Regions from separate parts of the Homo sapiens genome. Here regions 2 and 3 are each linked to region 1. Evidence: promoter capture Hi-C in 16 types of primary human blood cells and fetal thymus (Javierre and others, 2016). All regions are on one chromosome and are shown on one strand. The core of a region is centred on a gene start or on the middle of the fragment in contact, and the rest is flanking DNA. Distances in the headings are between cores, read along the strand shown.

Evidence for each region. The method cuts DNA at HindIII sites, captures the fragments that hold promoters and counts their contacts. A CHiCAGO score of 5 or more calls a contact.
Region 2: a contact is called between a fragment that was not itself captured here and the fragment with the promoter of NTS in region 1, in 1 of 17 cell types (naive B cells). The highest score is 7.7, in naive B cells.
Region 3: a fragment that was not itself captured here is called in contact with the fragment with the promoter of NTS in region 1 in 1 of 17 cell types (total B cells); the score reaches 7.2 in total B cells.

Annotation. Positions count from the first base shown.
Region 1 is chr12:85,872,440-85,876,846 of GRCh38, reverse strand. NTS (neurotensin) reads right to left here and starts at 2,552. Exons shown (of 4, transcript NM_006183.5): 1 at 2,371-2,552; 2 at 146-207. The coding sequence starts at 2,443. The HindIII fragment of the contact is 11,906 bases long and covers 1-4,165 here.
Region 2 is chr12:84,878,858-84,883,264 of GRCh38, reverse strand. All of the region lies in intron 5 of SLC6A15 (solute carrier family 6 member 15), which reads left to right. Among named protein-coding and RNA genes, the nearest start is that of SLC6A15, 32 kb to the left of the region's middle. The HindIII fragment of the contact is 647 bases long and covers 1,480-2,126 here.
Region 3 is chr12:85,073,317-85,077,723 of GRCh38, reverse strand. The region is part of intron 11 of LRRIQ1 (leucine rich repeats and IQ motif containing 1); the gene reads right to left. Among named protein-coding and RNA genes, the nearest start is that of LRRIQ1, 39 kb to the right of the region's middle. The HindIII fragment of the contact is 5,447 bases long and covers 1-4,407 here.

The DNA of each region.
Region 1 (4,407 bases), core at 1,303-3,802:
AGAAATTTTTTTTTTCAAAAAGGAAATGCCTCTCAAGGAACTTTTCAATCTTGATGAGAAGTTATTACTATGGGAAAAGGATACCATGTTTATAATGAAAGTTCATATGTTCTTCAACTCAGGGTTAAAGAAAAGAAAAAGTTACCTTTGATGTATGCATATTGGTCAAGAAATCTGCTTCTAATGCTTTCATTTCCTCTTCTGAATCTGAGTAAAATCAAAATCAGGTTTACTATAATTACATATCATATAATTATATCATAATCTACAGATTTTAGGTTAATCTAAAAAAAAATCTTAGAGGTTAGTGTCTTTCTTATGTATTTTCTTAAAAATAGTAATCCTAAAAAACAAATTATAGTTATACTTTAGCATAATAGGAAGCTAAAATAGTAGAAGCACTTCTAAGAAAATAAGCATATGATTATTTTTCAGACAGCTATTGATCACTGGGAGTTGTTTAATCTTTGAATTTCAGGCTTTAAAAATGTGATTACATTGTATAACACATATTTTACCAAATATGCTAGAGTAGCTTATTTCTTACCAGCCACAGTTTACATATATAGAAAATATGCATATTAACATTTAAAAACACAACATAATGAAGACTATACAAGAGACTTTTTCAAGACAAAACCAAAGGGAATTGCTTACTGATAATTTTAGAATAATAAAGATACTGAGGTTTACTTAACTTGAGATGTTTTTTACAAAACACACGTTGAAAGAATTGTATTGTACTTTAAGAGAATTCAAAATTATGTATCCTCAATTTTTTCATAGGCATTTAAGGAAATTGTTTAAAGCAAAAGTGGAGCTGTTCAACAACACATGTACAACAGCATTGAAAATGGATCTCTGGATTTTTAAAAAACTCTATCCAAGTTTCTGTTAATGAATATTTTACAGAGAAGGAAAATTTGGAAAATACTATACAATAATAAAAATAAAGTTAAAAATGACTCTATCTTCCTTGTACTACACACTCAGTAAAAAGAAATGCCACAATTGGAGAACCCATTGGCTTAATTTTACCTAGAACCTAAATTATACAAGAGATCTTTTCTCACTATTTGTTAGAGACATAATCTGTTTTAGGAATTTATGAACAATGTATACCAAAATCCTTATAACTATTGCATTATTACAACAAGTAGTTTCAAGTTAATAAACACAGTGCTTAATCAATAACCCAGTTTTTCTTCCAGAAGTATGTGAATCTTTAATCTCATATAACTTTCAGATAAAATCATAATTATAGAAAAGTTTGTTTTTTCTCATAAGATTTAAAAAGTAGAAGCTGAAAGTTATGTTCTGATGATTAAAATAAATTTAAAATTTTGTATAAATCACATTTATATCTTCTTAGATTTTAATTTCATAATTTAAATCAAATGATAGCATGAGTTTGAGTTAAACATTTCCATGTCATATTTATGATACATAAAAGCACAGAACAGGTTAAATTATTTTTGCTGCATTTGCTTCCTAATGTGTTCTTTTCCCTTTGAAGTGTTCATTGTAATATTTCTTAAATATTAAGTAGAGCCTTTTGCAATGGTTGTAATATTTCATGTTATACCTTTCAATTTAAGTCTTATTTTCAAAGTGAGTTATTCGTAGATACTTAGGACTATATAACTTCTTTCAAACCACATGCAAAACACTCTAAAGTCAAATAATTTCCATCAATATAAGAATACCAATTTTCCAATTGTATTTTGTATTAACTTAAATGGCATGGAAAAAATGCCAAACAGTTATATTAATAGCACACTTATTAGACTATGCAAATTCTGTTCTCAAAAAGGATCTGGAATATTTTTGTATTTTTCTAGAAATAATTTTCTACAAATAATGCTTCATTTTTCACTAAGTATCAATTTTCACTTTATTTGTTATCTTAACACAAACAAGAAAATAATACGGGGACTATTACAAGGGCGTGAGGGCCACCGCTTCCTAAGAGAATGAATGAGGATGAGAGTAAAACATTTTGAATGGAATGGGATTTAATGATGGGTTTGCAGGTTGACAGCCACTGCCTCTGTATTTCTCATTAGATAATGATCAGCCTAATTGAAAGTTTTGTAGGGTTTTTTTCCCTCTAGTTGTTGAATTCCAAAGGAGGTCGTGCAGTGTTTCATTGAAATCCCTTTTATTGCTTTGCAGATTTTAAAAGAGAAAATACATCTCTCAGTAATCATAAAGGCAGAGAAAGAGATACTCAGTTTCTGTCACTAAAAGGTAAATCCTGAATAAAAGGGAGCAACTCTTCTCCCCAGATACATTAACATAAGTAGCAACACACTGCAAAAGAGAAAAAAGAAATCACTTCAGGGAGTTGTGAAATTCTGTTTTGCTTACCTGAGCACAGACTCCAGGAGCTGAAAGCCAGGAGTAGCATGCATACAAGCTGGATTTTCATTCCTGCCATCATCTTTCAGCCTTCTAACAAGCCAAGTCCGTAAAAGTCAGAAGCACACTGAAGGGGGCTCTCTCTAGCACTTCCTCTTTCCTTCAGCTGGCTTTGAAAGTGAGTGAACTATGAGAGGTGCTCTGGCCATTCCCCTATATATATAAGCAGGAGGATGATGTCATTGATTGTACAGACATTATCTTTGCAGGATGTGCCCTATCTTCACCTCCATCCCTCCCCTCTTTGCCCTGCTTTCTCCTCCCCTTTTCCTTTGTCCCCCCTGCTCTCCTCCCCCATTTCTGAACCTTGAGTGAAAGTGACGATCTTCCCTAATTGCTGCTGCTGCTGCTTTGGATTTCTGACGCACAGAAGGAGTCATTCAACTGCACTGACATACAGCATACATACAGCATACTGACAAAGAACCCCCAGTATCATCCTTTTCCCACTTCTCATTCCCCCACTCCAAAAGTTGTCATTTTGATTTTGTGAAACATGAGATCTGTTATTTCTAATTTTTAAGGAAAATCTCCAGGATGAATGCATGAAATCAGTGATTCCTTAGGCTTGGAAGTTCTTGAAGAGTTAGGGTGCTTCTCTGGTAATTCAAACTTCTGAGCAAATGTTTAGTGGTTCCAAAACTAATACAGGTTTTAAATAATCCATGCTGGAATAAGATGGAATAGAGACAGAGAATCAGTTATAAAAATTAAGCAATTAAGTTTAGAGAATAGAAAGAAAATCAATAAAAAGAAATAATAGATCCAGGGAATAAGATATTATTTCCTAACAAATAGAAAATATTTTATTGTAAGTAATGAGAGATGACTGAACTATGTGTGCTGACTTTTGGTTGAATGTATTAGAAAAACAATTTCATGTTTATAAAATCCAGCTCTAAATTACTTACATTCTAGCAGGTAAAAATTTGTGTTGTTGTATCACTGACTTTTTTTCTGTACATTATCTCTTTTTATGCCTATATTTTTCTGCTCTTTTTGAATTCATTCTTGATGCCATGTCTCACTCTTTGTATAATTCCCTTCTCAACAGTTTTTACTATTGCATCGGCTTTCTTTCCCTGTTATAATACTCTTTTCACCATAAAAAAAGAGATTGTACTTTTGGAAAGGAGACAATCCTAAATAACCACCATTCACCAAAGTCACTTTTCTATGATAGTCTTCATGTATTTCATGAGTTACACTGATACCCATTCTTTGTCTGAGTTCTCAAAAGAAAATTGTTCAAAATGCCTTTTAGAGTAAAACTTTCTTCTTGTAGTAAGCATTTCAAGATACATGGGGTAATTTGACAAGTCAGTGCTGTTAGAGATGTGAATATTTGAATGTAAAGTTGTCTGAGTCTTGTTTAATTTTTAAATAAATCAATCATGTAGTAACAGTTGAGAAAAAATAGGATTGGTTCCTATAGATAATTGATTTATATTATACAATCTATGAGTTTAACTTTTTCACCTTTACCCAAAACTTAAGCAAAGCGATTAAATCCAAACATTTAATAATTACTTAGAATAGCAAGGAGTCTTTCATATAATACCAGAAATTTAATAATAACTGATATATTTATTACTTTTAGTTTGTTTTCTGAACTTACATAAAACACAATATTGAACATACTCACATGGAGGAAGGTTTCTGTAAAGTATTTAGTTGACAAATGTGAAATACATACGTCTAGATGTTTTCTGCTTTCCTACCATTAGGGGGAGCAATGGAAGCTTGAAACACTTGGTTTTCACTTAACAGAGTCTCAGTGAGGATTTGTGCTTACTTTCCTGTTACTATCAGAGCATCTTTGTGACAGAATCCTCTTAAAGCCACTTTGATTAACAAATCGGGAAAATTATATATACTTTGCATGATAATTAAATTAGTTGTTTTCTCTGCTTTTGAATTGCAAATACAAAGAATGATCTTTTAAAATGTGTGATAGCAGTCTAATAGTAAAAAGGAAATGTGATT
Region 2 (4,407 bases), core at 554-3,053, 990 kb after region 1:
AAGACATTAAGTGAATTCTAGGTAGCTTGTTTGTTATTATTTTTAAAGGACGCTCTAGGAAAGTAATTGCTATTCACTATTTTGCTTTCGTATTACTTTTTTTTTTTTTTTTTCATTATCACAGCCATTGTTCTAAAGCTCTCCACATCTCTTGGCTGGATCATAGCAAGAATTTACTGTTGGCTCTTCTCTCTGCCGTTTAACTGTCCAGCTGTGCTATTTTCCTTTTCAAAGTATAACTGATTTCAGGCTAACTTATTACCACTCATCATCATATACTAGCAGGAATGGCAATAGTAGTAGTAGTAGCAGCAGCAATAGTAGAAGTAGTCATAATAACAATAATAATAAATGATGATAAAGATGTTTCTGACAAGAATTAGGGTAAGAACAGTAATTGAAGCCAATTATTTATTACAAATGTATTTTGCTTTGGGTACTGTGATAACTACTTTTTATACTTTATCCCATTTAATTATAAAAACCACTCTTGAGAAGTAATTTTTATTTTCAGAACCATTTTACAGATTTAAAATAAACAGGTTTGAGGAATTAGTTTAACTTATCCAAAGTTTCGTGGCTATTAAGTTCTAGTATTTGGAGTCAAATGCAAGTCTGTCTAAATCTAGAGCCCATGTTCTTTAACTGCAACACTATAATGTCTCACCCCGTCCTAGTCCCACCAATTAGTCAACTCTTTTAGGGCAGAAGTCTGTCTAATTCATCTTTGCTTCCTGTTACTTTATATTTAATTAAAAATTTTAGTGACTTTTTAACTTGTAAATTGTAGCTGATTTTACATTTATCTTCCTGAAGGAAACTCTGTATCATTTTGTCTTTTGAATTTGTGAATATACTTGTTAACACATCTAAATATCTTTAAGTCTTTGGCAATGTTATTGTATTATATGACTAAATAACTTCGAATTGTTCAATTGTGTATGTCTTCCACTATGTCAGAGCCACATTCCCGTCACATTATAAATGAAGGAGTGGATTCTTAAATAAGACCTAACCATATTTATATGATTCCTAACATAATATCATTTGGTAGAAAGAAAACCAACTGTGGTCATCCAGAGAAGCTCAAAAACTCTTGTACTCAGGTTCTCTTACTACCACGTTTTGTTTCTGTTTCTTCTTAGTCTGTGTCTTAGCATCACTTAAAGAACTATTCATCCTTTTCTTATCACAGAATCTTGGGGTTGTTCTTCTCATGTCATGTAGTGTAAATTTATATAGAAAATGTAATACAATTTATTTAGTACATACATTTATTATTTTAATGAGAATGCCTCAGGAAAAGACTAGTATTTGGGCAATATTTGAAGAAAGAATTTAACAGGCACTGATGGGGAGAAAGCTAGCTGTAGGTAATGTGAGCAAAGATGTGGAAGCCAAAATTGTCACAATTCCTCAATCTGAAACAATGAGTTAAATATAATAACAATGACTTTATGAGGAATTAAAGGTTAAGCTTTGTGTTTACCTACTAAACAGAAAATGCCTCCAAATAAACAGTGTCACAAGTACAGAAGAGAGAAATATTGTTTAAGGCTAGCACATGGAAAAACAACTTAGAGGATTTAGCAGCTAAAAGAAGAATGAGTCAGCTGGTGATGTGCTTGGTCAAAACACACAGTCATACATGCATATACATATACCCCAAAATGCTAAGTGGAAACTGCATGAATTAAAAGAGGGGTATGATAGGGACATTGTCCTTTGGGCTAGGTAGGCACATATCAGTTGGACCACATCTGCAATACTGGATTTTACTGAAATCTTGTATTTTCCTTTTTATTATGAGAAATTTCAGCTCAGTGATCAAAGTCTTCAAATAGTTAAACCAAAAGAAGAATAGGGCTGCTTTGTGTGGCCATAGAGAGCAAAACTATGATCAAATAGTGGGTATTATGGAGGAGGTTGTGATGGTGGTAAGCCTTCAAAGAAAGAAAGGCCTTTCAAGAATCAAACTTGATAATAATGAAATCAGTTGCCTCAATGGTAGAGAGCTCAGCATCACTGGAGGTGGTCACACAGAGGTAGCATGTGCCCTAGTTACAGAATCTATTAAGGGGATGACTGTCTCAAATATGTAGGACAGAAATGAGAAGCCCCAAGCTTGCTTTTAACTCTAAGGTAGTATTTTCTACTCTGACTACTTTCCTGTTGTTACTACTACTATGCTAAATACTATGCATACATTATCTTGTTTATTCTTTCTATCAGCTAGATAATTTGCATATTTTATCCCCATTTTACTGCAAAGTTGACAAGCTCAGGGAAAATAAATAGTTGGCCAGAATTAAGCAACCAATACATGATAGACAGGGCTAAAACTGGGCTACAGAATTTTCAAAAAGAATGATACATTCTGAAGGTATGTTTATAATAAACATTTTTCATATGTAAAACAATGGTTTTTGTTTTCGATTTTTTAAACACTTTAGTAAAATGAAAATGTTTTATACAATCTTTTGAAAGATAAAATAGTCTCTCTTACTAACGTACTTGCTTTGACAGGCATAATAGTTGTCAAGGCCCGGGGGAGGGGTCTTAAAAATCAGTCAAAGGAGCATGTTTCTTTGTATCATTTCCCAGTTTTAAAAATGTATACTTCTTGGACAATGTGTAATAATCATTCACCCATTCATTATTATTTTGAGCAAATATTTATTAAGCACTTACTATGTTCTAGACACTGATCTAGTTTTGGAAATACAACTAACAAGGTAAACAATGTGCCTGTCCTCATGGAGTTTCCATTTAGTGGCAGAGGCAGCAAACAATAAACAAATTTATAAAATAACTTCAAGTTATAAGACGTAACGCATGGAGAGAAGAAAGTGGTTGGTATAAATACAGTGAATAGGTTGAATTTAACTCATTTTAATAATATTATGCAAGTGGCTGTTTTGGTCTAATAAGATTAGAGCCATATGAGTGAATGCAAATAATTTGTGTTTATAAATGACACAGATATTTAAGTAACCTGCTGACTCCTAAGACACATCTTTTTAAATCATGGAATTTAAAAATGAAATATTTTGTCCTCTTACCTGCTCACAGAGGAATAAAATTGATGTGTTGCCTTCTTAATATCACTTAAATGTTTGAAATATTGACTTATTTTTCTCCATCTTGTAGGCTTGAAATGTTCTTGTAACTTATTAGGAAACTGTGTTAGAGTCTTACTGAATCCAGATCAGTGTCCTTAAGAATTTAAATGTTTGTTGAATTAATAAATGAAAATTGAAATGTCTGGACATATAATTAGAATATAATTTTCAAAATACTGCAGAATAACCATAAGCTTGCAATTTTAGGAATTGTGTGCAGGAAGAAAAACTCAAATTCCTGTAAATCCTCTCTCAATGAACAATATATTTGAATATCTGCTATTTGTCAGGCACTGATGGATATGCAAAGAGTAATAGGCCACAGTCTGTCCTCATGGAACCCACAATTCAATGAATGAATTGTGTACAAGAAGAAAAACTTAAATTCCTATAAGTTTTATCTTAATGTGCAATATGTTTTAGTATTATATTATTGTACAACCATATTGCAACATATTGTAATGATGATTAGAACATACTAAGTGGAGTAACAGAAGCACATACAAAGTGTGTGATAGTGGCCAGGCGGTGGCTCACGCCTGTAATCCCAGCACTTTTGGAGGCCGAGGCGGGTGGATTGCCTGAGCTCACAAGTTTGAGACCAGCCTGGGCAAAACGGTGAAACTCCGTCTCTACTAAAATACAAAAAATTGTCCGGGCATGGTGGCAGGTGCCTGTAATCCCAGCTACTCGGGAGGCTGAGGCAAAATAATCACTTGAACCCGGGAAGCAGTGGTTGCAGTGAGCCGAGATTGCACCACGGCACTCCACCCTGGGCGACAGAGTGAGACTCGGTCTCCAAAAAAAAAGAAAGTGTGTGATAGTGTAGAGTCAGCAATTGCAATTAAACTGGATTTGCAAGAAGGCTTCACGGGGGATGTAAATTTTGGAGTAGGGTTCGATGGTTGAAGAGAAGTTCACCAGCAAGTTCACAGAGAACTGTGTGTAGGCACAGACAACAGCATGTACAAAGCTCAACGACTGCTGAGTATTTCTGTGTGACTTTTGCATACAACTTGTGCAGCTTGTGGAAGACGAAGGATGATATGCAAGTTGACTGATGATATTGGAGGCTCTGTGGACTCTTGTAAAATGATGGGCTGTTAGCTAGCAAACAGTGTGGAACCTTTGAGGATTTTTAATAGTTCAGTGATAGCACCAGATTTCTAGAAAGATCGCTCTGGCAACTGTGAAAAATGGATTTCTGGGATGCAGAGGAAAGCTAACAGAATCTGGAGGCAAGATGAGCAGGAAACTGTTTTCATACTGAAAGGTGTTGTGCTAT
Region 3 (4,407 bases), core at 515-3,014, 800 kb after region 1:
CTGTGAATACAGGTGTAAGCCACCATGTGCTGTGATTACAGGTGTAAGCCACCATGCCTGTCCTAATTTTACAAATTCTTTAATGTCAAATAAAGGCTGACAACTGAGTAAAATAAACTTATAGCAAGTCCTATCTTAGGATACCATTAATTCCTTAACACCTCTAAGAAAATTATTCTTTCCCAGATAAAATATCCAATATTTCTTCCCCTGCCCTATTCAAAATAAAACAAACAATAGCCACAAAAATATTAAAGAGCCTTTTCAAAGGACTTAAATATAATACAAATAAAGACTTGCTTAAATATTGTTTAGCTTACTGGTTAAATATATTCTTTTAACAGCTCTTTTAAAGTTTCCTAGATCTCACAAAATAAAACTTAAGTCAAGTGTGTTTACTCTTCAAAGGGCTCATGCCCATGGCAAAATTAACTTTTGGCCATACTTTCTACAAATATCTATTTCAAATAATTCTTCCCACAGAAATGAGCCAATGGTCTAATAAAACATTCCTGCCACAGGGGAGAAAATTCTGTAAGGAACAGCAAAATTAAAAATGTTAAATTAGGCTGGAGGTTTTTCACTGAAGATCAACCTCCTTCAGCTGTTCACTGATTGCCATGTCTGATGGTTTTTCATTCACACATACAAATATACAAAGTTGCACTTGAGACTTTTTAATTTTAGTGCAAAAGTACTTCAGGATTATACATGTTGTATAGAAAGAGTAATACTGAAACAGGAATCAGGAAACTTGGATCCCAGCCCTACCTCTGCCATGAGTTAGATGAAAACTATGTGGGTGTTTTTTCATCTGTAAACTAAGCAGCCTAGACTGGCGAGATACCTAAGATCCCTTTCAGCTTTACACTAAGCATTGTGTTGCCCTTCAAAACTAACAAGTAAGCTAGCACCATCTAGTGGACTCCAAAAAAAAAAAAAATCACTGAATAGGTAATAGTGAAAAAGATTCTTATAAGCAAAATGTCTAGAGTTCTTACTTTATTTTTCCTCCCAATGATTCAAAGACAATATTTGAAAGCAAGAATTATTCCAAGCACTATGAGCCACGACACAGCAATCAAGCCTATGTGAAAATGTTAAATTATTTCCATATCTTTCATATTTACAATACTAGTGGGCAATTTTCCAGAAAGCAGTATTATCTAGAAAATAAAGAAGGAAAAAAACTCTTAGTATCTCTACTATTTACATGATAATTTTTAGGAATATATGATGTGAAATTTATAAATTGGCAAATATATTGCTTAAATTAAAGAAATATTTTTTCAGATTAAAGTTTTCCTAAACAGAAACAGATACATCATGAACAAGAATATAAAAATGATCATTTACTCTTACATGTTAACATTATATTTATTTTTATTTTTATTCAATATTTAATAAAAGAAATAACTTATTCCAATTCCATATATATAGAGAAAATGTATATCACTATGATATTAAAGTCAAGAGAGTCGTTTGTTTTGTGTGGAAAAAGTCAAGATAATCATTTATTTTGTTTATTGCTACATCCCCAGAAATATTTCAGTGCTGAAAAAGCGCTTATACATATAGGTACTCAATAAATTTATTTTGAAAAAATGTCAAAATCATTACATTTGTTCAGCATAAAGAGTTTTAATGTAGTATAAAAATAGTAGTAATCTTAATTATGAAATGTATATTTATTTAAAAAGTAGAAGAATAGAAGAATAAGGTAATTTAAAAATTAGGCACTAGAGATAGACTGCTGAGTTTCAAATCCTGTCTCTATCATTTACTAGCTGTGTAATTTTAGATAATCTACTTTACTTCTTTGTGTCTCAGTTTTCTTATCTGGTGGGGTCAGAATTTTTTTTTTTGTTTTTGAGACAAGGTTTCTCTTTATCACCCAGCCTGGAGTGCAGTGGCATGATCACAGTTCACTGCAGTCTCATGAGTTCCTCTCAACTCAGCCTCCCGAGTAGCTGGGAATGCAGGAGCATGCCACCATACTCAGTGATACAGTTTGGATATTTGTCCCTGTCCAGATCTCATGTGGAATTCTAATCCTCAATGCTGGAGGTGGGGCCTGCTGGGAGGTGTTTGGATCATGATTGGGGTAGGGGGGATCCATCAGGGCTTGGTGCTGTCTTGGAGATAGAGTTCTCACAAGATCTGGTTATTTAAAAGTGTATGGCAATATCCCCACCACCACCACATTCTGTCTCCCTTGCTCCTGCTTTTGCTTGCAACTTGCCTGCGCCAGCTTCGCCTCCTGCCATGATTGTAAGTTTCCTGAGGCCTCTCTAGAAGCCAAGCAGATGTCAGTACCATGCTTCCTGTAAAGCCTGCAGAACCATGAGCCAATTAAACCTCTTTTCTTTTACCTAGTCTTGGGTATTTCTTTATAGGAAGGCATAAATGGCCTAATACACCTAGCTAATAAAAAAAAATTGTAGAGGCAGGGCCCCACTATGTTGCCCAGTTTGGTCTTGAACTCCTGGCCTTAAGTGATCCTCCCTCTTCAGCCTCCCAAAGTGCTAGGATTATAAGCGTGAGCCACTGTGCCCAGCCGAAAATATTTAATAGTACCTAACTCATGCCAGTGATGTGAAAAGCAAATGAGTTAATTTGTATAAAGCACTTAAATACCTATTGGTAAGAAAGCTATCTATTACTGTATAACACTTAATTGTATTTTTATGTAAATAAAATGTAAAAAATAACTTTTTTCAAATATGGATTTATTCAAAATTAATTTAGTTTCAAAATTTTCTGCTAGAAAGTCAATGAAATTCAACATAAAATAAGAGAAATAAAGACAACTAGATTTTAAGTTATAAATCCCATTTTTCATTTGCTTTGGCTATTCTTACTTTAAAAACTAACTGAAAAATACTGACTCAAAGGACTAAAGGTTTTCCATGAACCATTTTATAAACTTTAACAATCATGTGGCAACATTCATTCAATATATTTTTTGCCACATCTCATATAGAAAACACAGTTTTACCAATTTTGCCTTAAATTTACTTATGGGAAATTTCAAACAAAGGACAACATGAAAGATTTTCTTATTTAAAATTGGTCATAAAATAGAGAGTAGAAGGATGTTACCAGAAGCTGGGAAAGTTAGTAAGGGGCTGGGAGGAGTTGGGGATGCTTGCTTAATGTATATATATATAAAAAAAACAGAATGAATGAATAAGACCTACTATCTGATAGCACAACAGCATGATAGTTAATAATAACTTAATTTTACATTTTAATATAACTAAAAGATTGTAATTTGTTTGTAGAAACAAAGGATAAATCTTTGAGGGGATAGATACCCCATTTTCCATGATATGATTATTTCACATTGCATGCCTATGTCAAAACATCACATTATCCCATAAATATATACACCTACCATGTACCCACAAAAATAAAAATTAAAAAATAAAATAAAACTGGTATGAATATTTCACGTTATATTTTTGTTTTTACAATTGCATAGTTTAATTAGAATGGAAAACATTCATAACTAATTTCAAATAAATTGCCTTAAAAAGATTGATACATTCACTATTCTCATTCACTTAAATGCAAATAGTATCAACCAAATAAATATGTACATTAATATTTTCTAATAAAAAGAATACAGTTAACATTACATATTAACTACTGTGATAACTATAGCACAGTAAGAATTAGAAACAAATTAAACTTGAAACTACCAATGTGAAATATTGTGGTATTGCTTCCAATTTTATTTCACCTCCTTAAGAAATATTATAGCATGGAATAGTAACTCACTAACTTACAAACACAAATCTATCTTTGTCTCCCTTCATAAGAGTTCTTAGCATCAATATATCACTGAAAGACAAAATCTATGCTTTTCACTTAGCTCAACCAGAATCTCTAAGCATTTCCTGAAGATGAAAAACAGACTCCAACTGCTCTTCAGAAAATCTACTTTCTCATGTATACTATTCTCACACTCAATAAATACAGTGTTTTCATTGTACCCAACAGACACCAAAGAAGTCTTTTACCTTGTTTGCTCTGTACTGCATGCACAGAGATATCTCAGGTTTATCAATTAATACTATGGCAGTTTTCACATAAATCTTGCTGATATCCTATGCCAGGAAATCCACTACTTACCAAAAAAATTCGTACAGCACTGCTGGCAATGAAAATGAAGTAAACGGGAATTCAAGCATTTCTTTTTTTACAAACAGCCTTTCTTTTCTTTTTAAAGTTTGCTTCAGTGTGTGCCAATATAGTAACATACATTATCAATGCACTTGCCTTCACTCCAACAACAACAAAATTATTTTAAACTAAAATTTTAAAGTAAAAATATTTGTGTCAAAACTATCAGCATTTCCATATGGAAGAAGTCATAGTAATCCAAAGCAGGCAGCACAAGAA